Regions from separate parts of the Homo sapiens genome. Here region 1 is linked to region 2. Evidence: promoter capture Hi-C in human tissues and cell types (Jung and others, 2019). All regions are on one chromosome and are shown on one strand. The core of a region is centred on a gene start or on the middle of the fragment in contact, and the rest is flanking DNA. Distances in the headings are between cores, read along the strand shown. Region 1 overlaps DDX46 (DEAD-box helicase 46). Region 2 holds the start of SEC24A (SEC24 homolog A, COPII component).

Region 1 (6,195 bases), core at 3,380-5,879, 170 kb after region 2:
GCGGATCACCTGAGGTTGGGAGTTCAAGACCAGCCTGACCAACATGGAGAAACCCTGTTTCTACTAAAATAAAAATAAAAAATTAGCCGGGCATGGTGGCATATGCCTGTAATCCGAGCTACTCGGGAGGCTGAGGCAGGAGAATAGCTTGAACCCGGGAGGCAGAGGTTGCGATGAACCAAGATTGTGCCATTGCACTCCAGCCTGGGCAGCAGGAGCAAAACTCTTGTCTCAGAAACAAACAAACAAAAAATCGCAACAGTTGACTGTTTGGGTCAGATTGTTTTTTTGGTTTTGTTTTTTACATTTTTGTGGAGATGTGGTCTTGCCATTTTTGCCCAGGCTGGCCTCCAACTCCTAGGCTCAAGCTATCTTTCCACCTCTGCCTCCCCAAGTGCTGGGATTACAGGTGTGAGCCATTGTACCCAGCAAGGTCAGATTGTTTTGTGAAGATAGCAAACTCTAGCGAGACTCCATCTCAAAAAAAAAAAGGAAAAACAAAAAACAAAATCAAAAGGTATGACCACACAATTGTGCATTTGTGTAAAATTACCTATGTTTCTTTTTTTTTTTTGAGACGGAGTTTCACTCTTGTCACCCAGACTGGAGTGCATTGGCGCCATCTCACATGCACTGCAACCTCCGTCTCCCAGGATCAAGTGATTCTCCTGCATCAGCCTCCCAAGTAGTTGGGATCACAGGCATGCCACCACCACACTCGGCTAATTTTTTTGTGTTTTTAGTAGAGATGGGGTTTCACCATGTTGGTCAGGCTGGTCTCGACCTTCTGACCTCAAATGATCCACCCCCCCTTGGCCTCCCAAAGTGCTGGGATTACAGGCGTGAGCCACTGCGTCCAGCCAATTGCATATATTTCTACCTCTGTGTAAAGAAATTAGAAATTTTCTAGTTTGCTTGTGTTATTTTAAAATATTAAACTTGGGCCGGGCACAGTGGCTCGTGCCTGTAATCCCAGCACTTTGGGAGGCCAAGGCGGGCGGATCACCTGAGGTCAGGAATTTGAGACCAGCCTGGCCGACATGGTGAAACCATGTCTCTAGTGAAAATACAAAAATTAGCCGGGCATAGTGGCAGGCGCCTATAATCCCAGTTACTCGGGAGGCTGAGGCAGGAGAATCACTTGAACCCGGGAGGCAGAGGTTGCAATGAGCCAAAACTGCGCCACTGCACTCCAGCCTGGGCAACAGAGTGAGACTCCATCTCAAAAAAATAAAAAACAACAAAAAATAAAAATTAAACTTGGATATTTCACTTTGAACCATTAAGTAATTTAGTAAGACTCTTTCGTGGCTTTTAAAATTCTTTAGTTAATGTTGTCAATCTCGAGGATTTATTAGGTGGATCAGATTTTATCTTATGATCTAAGTAGGATCCATCTTGTTAGTGTCTAATAATTGTACTTTTTCATCATGCATTAGGGTTATGCTTATACTTTTATCACAGAGGATCAAGCTCGCTATGCTGGTGACATAATTAAAGCTCTTGAATTGTCAGGGACTGCAGTACCTCCTGATTTAGAGAAACTGTGGAGTGATTTCAAAGATCAGCAGAAAGCTGTGAGTTTTTAACCCATGTTACTCTTCTAGAAATCATTAATGTGACTAAACCTTGATTATTTAATTCTTGGAAATCTTTTATTTAACACTTGAAAATTTTGCTACGACTATTTTTATTTCTCTCTAGAGGGAAAAATGAGTGAAAGCTAAAATCCTATCTTATTCTTGAACTTAGTATTTTGTGGTGTCTATGTAGAGCTCTTAGTTTATCTTACATGCTAGATGAAGTGTTTTTATTACATTGACATACACCACCTTGAAAAATATTTAATTAGTATGAATTCCTAAACATTAAAGTTTTTACTATGAGATTAACTTCGTTTTCTTTTTTTGAAAGGAGGGGAAAATAATTAAAAAGAGTAGTGGGTTCTCTGGTAAGGGATTCAAGTTTGATGAAACAGAACAAGCTTTGGCTAATGAGAGGAAGAAGTTACAAAAAGCAGCTCTTGGTCTACAAGATTCAGATGATGAGGATGCTGCAGTTGATGTAAGTACTATTATTCTCTCATTCTTAATTGAAGCAGTTATTTCTTTTGTACTGGAGGTCTTGCCATATATGGTTATCAAGATAGACAATCACTGGAAACCTTTACAAGAGGTTGGTTCCAGAACAGTTTTGGAAAATCTGCCTACTACATACCAGTACCCCTCCTCTCAATATATAGACCACTCATTAGCACTTCAAAGGATGTGAAAAGTCCTTTTTTTTTTTTTTTTTTTTTTGCGATGGGAGTCTGGCTGTGTCACCCAGGCTGGAGTACGGTGGCGTGGTCTCCATTCACTGTAACCTCCGCCTCCTGGGTTCAAGCAATTCTCCTGCCTTGGCCTCCTGAGTAGCTGGGATTACAGGCATCCACCACCACGCCTGGCTAATTTTTGTATTTTTAGTTGAGGCGGGGTTTAACCTTCTTGCCCAGGCTGGTCTCAGATTCCTGACCTCAAGTGATCCGCTTTCCTTGGCCTCCCAAAGTGCTGGGATTACAGGCGTGAGCCACCTCGTCTGGCCATGGATGTGAAAAGTCTTTAACGAATCTTGTTTAACTTCATTAAACCCAGAAATTCCCCAACATACCTGATCTCAGAACACTTTTGGACATATCATGTTAAACTTAAGTTCAGAAAATAATTTTGGAAATCAGAAATTCAACCTGATCTTATCATTAGGAAATTGACTCCAAGAAAAGATGTTAGGTCCAGGACCACAGTGGGAGTTAACACAGACAGGACCAGAACCCAGTTGTCCTATTAACCTTAAGCCATTTCTTTCTAGGATACCATACTAGCTCAAAAAATTAGCCGGGCGTGTCTTGCTCTGTCACCCAGGCCAGACTGCAGTGTCGTAATCTCAGCTCAACTGCAACCTCTGCCTCCTGGGTTCAAGCGATTTTCCTGTTTCAGCCTCCCTAGTAGCTGGGATTACAGGCACCCACCACCACGCCCGGCTGATTTTTGTATTTTTAGTAGAGATGGGGTTTCACCATATTGGCCAGGTTGGTCTCAAACTCCTGACCTCAGGTGATCCACCTGCCTTGGCCTCCCATAGTGTTGGGATTATAGGTGTGAGCCACTGTGCCTGGCCAATAAAGTCATTTTTTTTTTTTTGAGACGGAGTCTCGCTCTGTCACCAGGCTGGAGTGCAGTGGCTTGATCTTGGCTCACTGCAACCTCTGCCTCTCAGGTTCAAGTGGTTCTCCTGCCTCAGACTCCCAAGTAACTGGAACGACAGGCACGCGCCACCATGCTTGGCTAATTTTTTTTGTATTTTTACTAGAGACAGGGTTTCACCATGTTGGCCAGGATGATCTTGATCTCTTGACTTCGTGATCCGCCTGCCTCGGCCTCCCAAAGTGCTCAGATTACAGGCGTGAGCCACCACGCCCGACCACATTTCATTTTTTAAATTTATCTGTTACCATGTAACAAATCAAAACTTAGCAGGTTAAAGCAATAAACACTTATTATCACATAGTTCCTTATGGTCAGGAAATCAGGAGCAGTTTAGTCAGGTAGTTCTGGCTTAGGCGCTCGTGAGATTGCAGTCATCTGCAGGCTTGACTGTTGCTGGATGATCTGCTTCCAACATCAGTCACTTTGATGTAGATAGGATGCCTCAGTTCTTCACCTCTTTGCCTGTCCTTACCCACATGGCAGCTGGCTTTCCCCACAGTGAGTGATCAAAGAGAGCAAAGAGAAAGCTTTAGTGCTTTTTATGACTGTCTCTGAAATTACACACTGTCACTTCCACTTTATTCTTTATGGGGTTTTTTTTGTCTTGTTTTGTTTTGTTTTGGAAACAGAGTCTGACTCTGTTGCCCAAACTGGAGTGTAGTGGTGCGAACTCAACTCACTGCTGCCTCAGCGATCTTCCCACCTCAGCCTCTTGAGTAGCTGGTACTATGGGTGCACCACCATGCCCTGTTAATATATATTTTAAAATGTTTTTTTTTTTAGAGTCGAGGTCTCACTGTGTTGCCTAGGTTGGTCTGAAATTCCTGGGCTCAAGTGATCCTCCTGCCTCAGCCTCCCAAAGTGATGGTATTACAAACATGAGCCACCATGCCCAGCCCACTTTCTTCTATTAGAAGGAAGTCATTAAGTCCAGCCCACACTCAAGAAAAAAGACTATTAAATAATTTGTAGCCATGTTTTAAAAACATCTGTCACTTTTTGACATTATGGTAGTTTCCTCTTTTCTGTGGTTTTAGTTGCCATAGGTTAACCACAGTCTGAAACTATTACAGTATTTTGAGACCACATTCATATAACTTTTATTACAGTATATTGCTATAATTGTCCTATTTTATTGTTGTTAATCTCTTAACTGTACCTAATTTATAAATTAAACTTTATCATAGGTATGTATGTATAGGAAAAAACAGTGTATGTCGGTGCGGTACTATCTCTGTTTTTAGGCATTCACTGGGGTTCTTGGAATGTATTCCATGTGTAAAGGGAAAACTGCAGTATTTTTAACTGTTTTTTAAAATCTTGTGATAAAATACGGTGATTGTTTCTTCGGGTGTTAAAGTAATATATAATTTTATGAAAAATGTAAACAGTACTTAACACGAATAAAATCAAAAGTAAGGTTAGCTCTACCAGCTAGCATTGTATACTTCCCCCTTTCCTGATTTTATGAATTTGTTCAGATTGTAATACCATGAATGCTATTTAATTTAAAACGGTTTTACTCAGGTAAATGTTGAGTTTTAAAACTAGTTGATAACTGACCCCCTGTTGGTGTTTTCTTGGGGTTTTGTTTTGTTTTGTTTTTATGAGACAGGATCTCACTCCATCAACCAGGCTGGAGTAAAGTGGCGTGATCTTGGCTCACTGTAGCCTCGACCTCCTGGGCTCAGGTGATTCCCCACCTCAGCCTTCTGAATATCTGGGACTACAGGCATGTGCCACCATGCCTGGGTAACTTTTATATTTTTTGTAGAGACAAGGTTTCGCCATGTTGCCCAGGCTGGTCTTGAACTCCTGGGCTCAAGTAATCCTCCTGCCTTGAACTCTCAAAATGCTGGGATTATAGGCAGGAGCCACTGTGCGTGGCCATAACTAAAACCCTTTAATAGGTAATAAATGTTTTAAGAAGAATCTAAGGCTGGGTGTGGTGGCTCATGGCCTGTAATCCCAACACTTTGGAAGGCCATGGTGGGAGGATAGCTTGAGCCCAGGAGTTCAAGACCCTCCTAGACAACACAGTGAGACCCCATCTCTATAAAAAGGTTTTTAAAAATTAGCTGGACGTGCTAGTGCACGCTGTGGTCCTAGCTACTTGGGAGGCCGAGATATGAGGAACCCTTGAGCCTGGGAGTTAAAGGCGACCCTGTCTCAAAAAAATACAAAAGCTAAACGGACTGTTTTTATTGTAGTAAAAGAGCTTTGTAAATTAACCAATTAATTTTTAAGCCCTAAATAAGCTTTTCTGTGCATTTGAGATCTAGAAGATACAGCTTTATTAATCTGATCTAAATTTCTGAAGGGGGCTTGTATTTCTGTAATCAGTGATATCAGTAGTCACTGTTGGGCAAAGGGCATTTTTTAAAAGAAATGCACATAGCAGGCTGGCGGTGGTGGCTCATGCCTGTAATCCCAGTGCTTTGGGAGGCCAAGGTGGGCGGATCACGAGGTCAGGAGATGAGACCATCCTGCCTAACACGGTGAAACCCCATCTCAACTAAAAATACAAAAAATTAGCCAGGTGTGGTGGCGGGCACCTGTAGTCCCAGCTACTCAGGAGGCTGAGGCAGAAGAATGGCGTGAACCTGGGAGGCGGATCTTGCAGTGAGCTGAGATGGCGCCATTGCACTCCAGCCTGGGAGACAGAGCGAGACTCTGTCTCAAAAAAAAAAAAAAAAAAAAAAAAAAGAAATGCACCTAGCAGTAGGGCTCATGTGACTCCTGTCAAAGCAAAGCATTCATCATTGCGCTTGCCTTGATGGGGAAACAACCTGCATTTGTTTCCTTTCTTGATTCAAAGGAATAAGGGAATAAGCCTTTTCTGGTTCAGTTACCCAGTTTTTAAGGCAAATCCAATTGGATTTTATGGGTTGGGAAGAGTTTTGAGAGCTTTACCTTAGGAACATGTTATATCACTCCCCCTGAGAATTAT
Region 2 (6,043 bases), core at 203-2,702:
TGGCTGGGCATGGTGGCTTACGCCTGTAATCCCAGCACTTTGGGAGGCTGAGGCGGGTGGATCAACTGAGGTCAGGTGTTCAAGACCAGCCTGGCCAACATGGTGAAACCCTGTCTCTACTAAAAATACAAAAATTAGCCAGGCATGGTGGCAGGAGCCTGTAATCCCAGCTACTCGGGAGACTGAGGCAGGAGAATTGCTTGAACCCAGGAGGCGGAGGTTGCAGTGAGCGGAGATGGCACCACTGCACTCCAGCCTGGGCAACAGACCAAGACTCTGTCTCAAAAATATATATATATATATATTTTTTAAATAGAGATAAGGGGACTCTCCCTGTTGTCCAGACTGGTCTCAAACTCCTGGCCTCAAGTAATCCTTCTGTCTCAGCCTCCCAAAGTGCTTGGATTACAGGAGTGAGCCACCTTGCCCAGCCCGACACAGTGGTTTAGATCTGGCTTTTTTTTGTATGTAATATAACACTTCATAGCAGGCATTTGGTATTAAATGAATTAGGTAAGATGTACTTCACACTGAGGTTTCGAAACCGCGTGGCATGACATTTTAATCCACAGTACAAATCTGTAAAGGAGGGCTTTATCGTCAGCACAGAGCAGGAAAAACCTAAATAGAATGAAGGCAGCTAAGATGATTACTCAATCATTAATTAACTATGTTGTCCAATCACCGCAGTTTCGACCTCCCTTTGGCTTCAAAAGTCAAAAAAGTCAACTTGCAAAAAAAAAAAAAGTCTACTTGCTCTGAAAGGAAGTTTGAGTTCTTTACCTTACTGTAAACTCTTAGAAGAGGAAACAAAACTGCCATTTAAATGTGCTAATGAACTTGAGCGTGACTATGCTGTGAATCAGCGAGTTTCAAAATTAAAATTCCTCTGAGTCCTCCAGTCAAAGACAAAGGCCTCCTTCTTGGCTTGATCACACTATTAACATGTACACATATTTAACCACCTCTTTTTAAAACCCCTTATAATTTACATCTGAAACACGAAGACGAAATGTGAATGAAATACTGCGATGAACATTAACCGCCCCAGCTCCCAGTGGTGGTACGGTCTCAACAGAGGACGATGACTTCTATGGTCTCAGGTAATCTTCACAAAACCCGAGGAGAGGAACTGTCAGTCCCACCCCACGAAAGCGGCTACTGAATCTCAGATTGCCCCACGATCCTGGCTCTGCGAGCGAGGTCACGTTCACAACGGCGGGAATTTCCGTAGCGGTGACACACGGCACTTCCGGCCGGCCGTGAGAGTCGGTGACGTGGCGGCGAGGCCGGGCACGGTCGTCGGGGTCGGGGCACCAGGAGCTGTCAGGTGGCCTCGGGGCAGCCCGGCTGGCAGAGAAGAGTTCGCCGGCGCGGCGGCGGCTGCTGCGAGCCCGGAGCCGGAAGTGCCACGTGTCCTGATTGCGGCTGCGCGGCCGGCGGCTGACAGGCACTTCCGGCCAGGGCCTCCCTCCTTCTCTCTAGGTTTGGCTGCCGCCTTCTAGCCGGGCGTTCGCGGCCCCGCCGGCCCGACTCTCAAGCCTCAGCTCCCAGGCTAGGCTGTGGCCGCCGGTGGCCTGGGGAGAGTGCGGCGCCATGCCTCGGGCTTAATGCGCCCCCCCCTCTTCTCCCAGTCTTCAGTCTTAAGTCGTTAGCCTCCTCCCTCCGCTTTCAGCAGTGGTCTTTCAGCTCTCTTCTTGTGCGCTGTTGTCGACCCCGACCAGCCCCTTCCAACCCAGTCATCATGTCCCAGCCGGGAATACCGGCCTCCGGCGGCGCCCCAGCCAGCCTCCAGGCCCAGAACGGAGCCGCCTTGGCCTCGGGGTCTCCCTACACCAACGGTGAGTGCTGTCCGGGGGGAGGGCGCAGCCTGGCCAGGGCTGACTGACCTTTGCGTGCCACTGCTGCTTGAGGCGACATAGATAGAGAGAGTGACCTCCTTACCGGGTTCTGGCGCGGATGGTGGTGGGCGGCTGGGCCAGGGGACCACGGCAGTTGTGCACCTGTAGCCCCAGGCTCGTCTCAGTCTTTCACATTTATTTAGTCGGTCACCAAAACAGTAAATGAGCACCTGCTGTATGCAACGCCCTGGGTGAAACACGGGTGAGAAAATGCCTCAAAACTCGAATATAAGGATCATAGTGTTTGTGTGCCTTCGCCTTCCTTGCCACCTCACCCCAGTCTCCTAGAGAGCAGGATGTGGGGTCTGATTCTTCTGGGTTCCGCAGGCCCTGAAGTGGGGTGGGGGTCGTACTCAGTCTGAGTTTCTGGAGATGAATGCATGCTTTTGGGACACCCCTTTAGGGCCTACTCATCTCTCCCAGAACCTTCCCAGAATTGTACCTACAACAGCTGTTCAATGTTTCAGCTGTGGAAAAACCAAATAGAAGGGAGGATCTCCTGGTTGACTTCTAGATGTCTGGACAGCATTTGGAAAGTGGGTGGACACAACTCTCTGAATCTCTGACAAGAGTCTACATGTACATTATAGTTTGTCATTTGATGTGAGAATGTCTTATAATTTTATACCTCTTCTAGGATTCCTTAAATCGTCCTACATTGTGATTTGCTAAGATTATTTCAGTTGTTACAATAGACAAAGACTTTCTGCCGACAGATTGCCTACTTACCAATTTACTTACAAATCTTTGGTTTACAGAAATAAGACTAGTAGAATAATGCTAAAGAACTTAAGTTGCCCATTAGAGTCTAAGAGTTCTGTGAAGTTGGAGAATACAGACAGTGACTAAAATCTCTAATTTACATTGTTTTTAGAGAAGACCGCTGTTTTCTTTACAAAGATGGCTCTAAAAGACTTTTAAAAATGTCTGTGAGTAGGCAACTATGTGGGCAGAAGAAAGAATAAGTGGAGGAAAGCCACTGAAAGGGTACTGAGTTAACCATTCTTTCTCAAAATTATGGTAACAGATTATGTACACTACATTTTATTCTAGAATATTTAGTAACATTTACACTGAGGATGAGAAAAAATGTTACATGGCTATGGATTTTTCTTATAATCTATAAATTGCAGTTTTACATTAACTTTAAATGACAAATCCTCAAATGTGCTTCAACATTTATATATGAGTGTAGTTGTCATAATATTGAAATGTTAAAGGGATTTGACCACTGTGGTATGCTGTATTAGAGATACTGTCACTATGTTGATTTGATACAGTCCAACAGACATTTGTTCCACATCTTTTTTTTTTTTTTTGAGATGGAGTCTTGTTCTGTTGCCCAGGCTGGAGTGCAGTGGTGGTGATCTTGGCTCACTGCAACCTCTGATTCCTGGGTTCAAGCGATTCTCCTGCCTCCTTAACCTTCCAAAGTGCTGTAATTACAGGCCTGATCCACGGTACCCAGACCTCTTTTTTAAAATATAATTTTCATAGTCTTTTTATAAGTTCCATTTCTACAGGGTTTTTTGTTTGTTTGTTTGTTTGTTTGTTTTTTGAGACGGAGTTTTGCTTTTGTCTCCCAGGCTGGAGTGCAATGGCGCTATCTCGGCTCACTGCAACCTCCTCCTCCCAGGTTCAAGCAATTCTCCTGCCTCAGCCTCTGAAGTAGCTGGGATTACAGGCACGTGTCACCACACCCAGCTAATTTTTATATTTTTAGTAGAGACGGGGTTTCACCATGCTGGTCAGGCTGATGTCAAACTCCTGACCTCTAGTGATCCACCCACCTTGGTCTCCCAAAGTGCTGGGATTACAGGCATGAGCCACTGTGCCTGGCCTCTACAGGTTTTTTGTATTTTGCCTTTTTTTTTTTTTTGAGACAGGATCTTACTTAAACTGTCCCTCAAGCTGGAGTGCAGTGGCAGGATCACAACTCACTGTCACTCCTGGGCTCAAGCAATCCTCACACCTCAGCCTCCCCAGTAGCTAGAACTACAGGTGCATACCACCAGGCCCCATTTTTTATATAAGTATATAATATATATATATAATGTATATATTTTATTATTATTTTTTGAGTCAGAGTTTCACTCTGTTGCCCAGGCTGGAGTACAATGGCTCGATCTCGGCTCACTGCAACCTCCATGTCTCAGGTTCAAGTGATTCTCGTGCCTCAGCCTCCCGAGTAGCTGGGATTACAGGCCTGTGCCACCACAACCGGCTAATTTTTGTATTTTTAGTAGAGATGGGGTTTCACCATGTTGGCCAGGCTGGTCTTGAACTCCAAACCTCATAATGATCCGCCCACCCTGGCATCCCAAAGTGCTGGGATTACAGGCATGAGCCACCACGCCCGGCCTAATGTAAAGATATATGTATATTATATATATAATGTTTTATATATATTTTGTAGAGATGAGTCTCTCTATGTTGCCTAGGCTGGTCTGAAATTCCTGACCTCAAGTGATCCTCCTGACTCAGCCTTCCAAAGTGCTGGGATTAGAGGCATGAGCTACCAAGCCTAGCCTGGGTTGTTTTATTGTTCATCCTGCTAATAATACAGAGAGTAGGGATATGGTATCAAGTTGGAGAACAGGATATTTTTCAAGAAGGTGAGAAAACGTTTCAATGCTGGGATCTAGTTTTGCTTAACTATTCCAAAGCAGTAGTTGATGCTTGCATATTCTGTTGAAAACTCTTTTTTTTTTTTTTTTTGATGGAGTTTCACTTTTGTTGCCCAGGCTAGAGTGCAATGGCTCATTGCAACCTCTGCCTCCCAGATTCAAGCAATTCTCCTGCCTCAGCCTCCTGAGCAACTGGGATTACAGGTGCATGCCACCACACCCGGCTAATTTTTGTATTTTTAGTAGAGACAGGGTTTCATCACATTGGTCAGGCTGGTCTCAAACTCCTGACCTCAGGTGATCCGCCCGCGTCGGCCTCCCAAAGTGCTGGGATTACAGGCGTGAGCCACCGCGCCTGGCCGAAAAGTCTTAAGTATTTAATGAAGTTTGCTTAAATTACATATTACAGTATAATTAGATCTTCAGTTTGCTTTTGTTTTTTGTTTTTGAGATAGTCTTTCTCTATTGCCCAGGCTGGAGTGCAGTGGCGTGATCTTGGCTCACTGCAACCTCCATCTCCTGGGTTCAAGCAATTCTGCCTCAGCCTCCTGAGCAACTGGGACTACAGGCATGCGCCACTATGTCTAGCTAATTTTTGTATATTTAGTAGAGACGGGGTTTCGCCACGTTGCCCAGGCTGGTCTCGAACTCCCGAGCTCAGGTGATCCGCCCACCTCGGCCTACTAAAGTGCCGGGATTACAGGCGTGAGCCACTGTGCCTGGCCAGTTTGGTGTTTTTTGTTTTTGAGACGGAGTCTTGCTGTGTTGCCAGGCTGGAGTGCAGTGGTGCGATCTCAGCTCACTGCAACCTCCACCTCCCAGGTTCAAGCGATTCTCCTGCCTCAGCTTCCCGAGTAGCTGGGGTTACAGGCACCTGTAGCACATGCCACCATGCCTGGCTGATTTTGTATTTTGTTTGTTTGTTTTGTTTTGTTTTTGTTTTTGTTTTTTTGAGACGGAGTCTCACTCTGTCACCCATGCTGGAGTGCAGTGGTGCGATCTTGGCTCGCTGCAAGCTCCGCCTCCTGGGTTCATGCCATTCTCTTGCCTCAGCCTCCCGAGTAGCTGGGACAATAGGTGCCCGCCACCACACCCGGCTAATTTTTTGTATTTTTTTTTTTTTTTTAGTAGAGACAGCGTTTCACCATATTAGCTAGGATGGTCTCAATCTCCTGACCTCGTGATCTGCCCGCCTCTGCCTCCCAAAGTGCTGGGATTACAGTTATGAGCCACTGTGCTCGGCCTAATTTTTGTATTTTTAGTGGAGACGGGGTTTCACCATGTTGGCCAGGATGGCCTCTATCTGCTGACCTCATGATCCTCCTGCCTCAGCCTCCCAAAGTGCTGGCATTACAGGTGTGAGCCACCATACCCGTTCCAGTTTCGTTTGTTTGTTTGTTTTTTAAAGAGCCTGGGTCTTGCTCTGTCACCCAAGTTGAAGTGTAGTCACTTGATCATGGCTCACTGCAGCCTCGAACCTCCTGGCTGAAGTGATCCTCCCACGTCAGCCTCCTG

What was found. The method cuts DNA at HindIII sites, captures the fragments that hold promoters and counts their contacts. A contact is called where the count stands out against the background at its distance.
Region 1: a fragment that was not itself captured here is called in contact with the fragment with the promoter of SEC24A in region 2 in 1 of the 25 tissues and cell types used here (aorta).

The regions. Positions count from the first base shown.
Region 1 is chr5:134,809,782-134,815,976 of GRCh38, forward strand. DDX46 (DEAD-box helicase 46) reads left to right here. Exons shown (of 23, transcript NM_001300860.2): 17 at 1,440-1,577; 18 at 1,915-2,064. Among named protein-coding and RNA genes, the nearest start is that of C5orf24, 33 kb to the right of the region's middle. The HindIII fragment of the contact is 3,502 bases long and covers 2,879-6,195 here.
Region 2 is chr5:134,647,333-134,653,375 of GRCh38, forward strand. It overlaps SEC24A (SEC24 homolog A, COPII component), which reads left to right and starts at 1,453. Exons shown (of 23, transcript NM_021982.3): 1 at 1,453-1,841. The coding sequence starts at 1,745. RefSeq lists enhancers at 994-1,053, 1,064-1,353, 1,101-1,638. The HindIII fragment of the contact is 35,050 bases long and covers 1-6,043 here.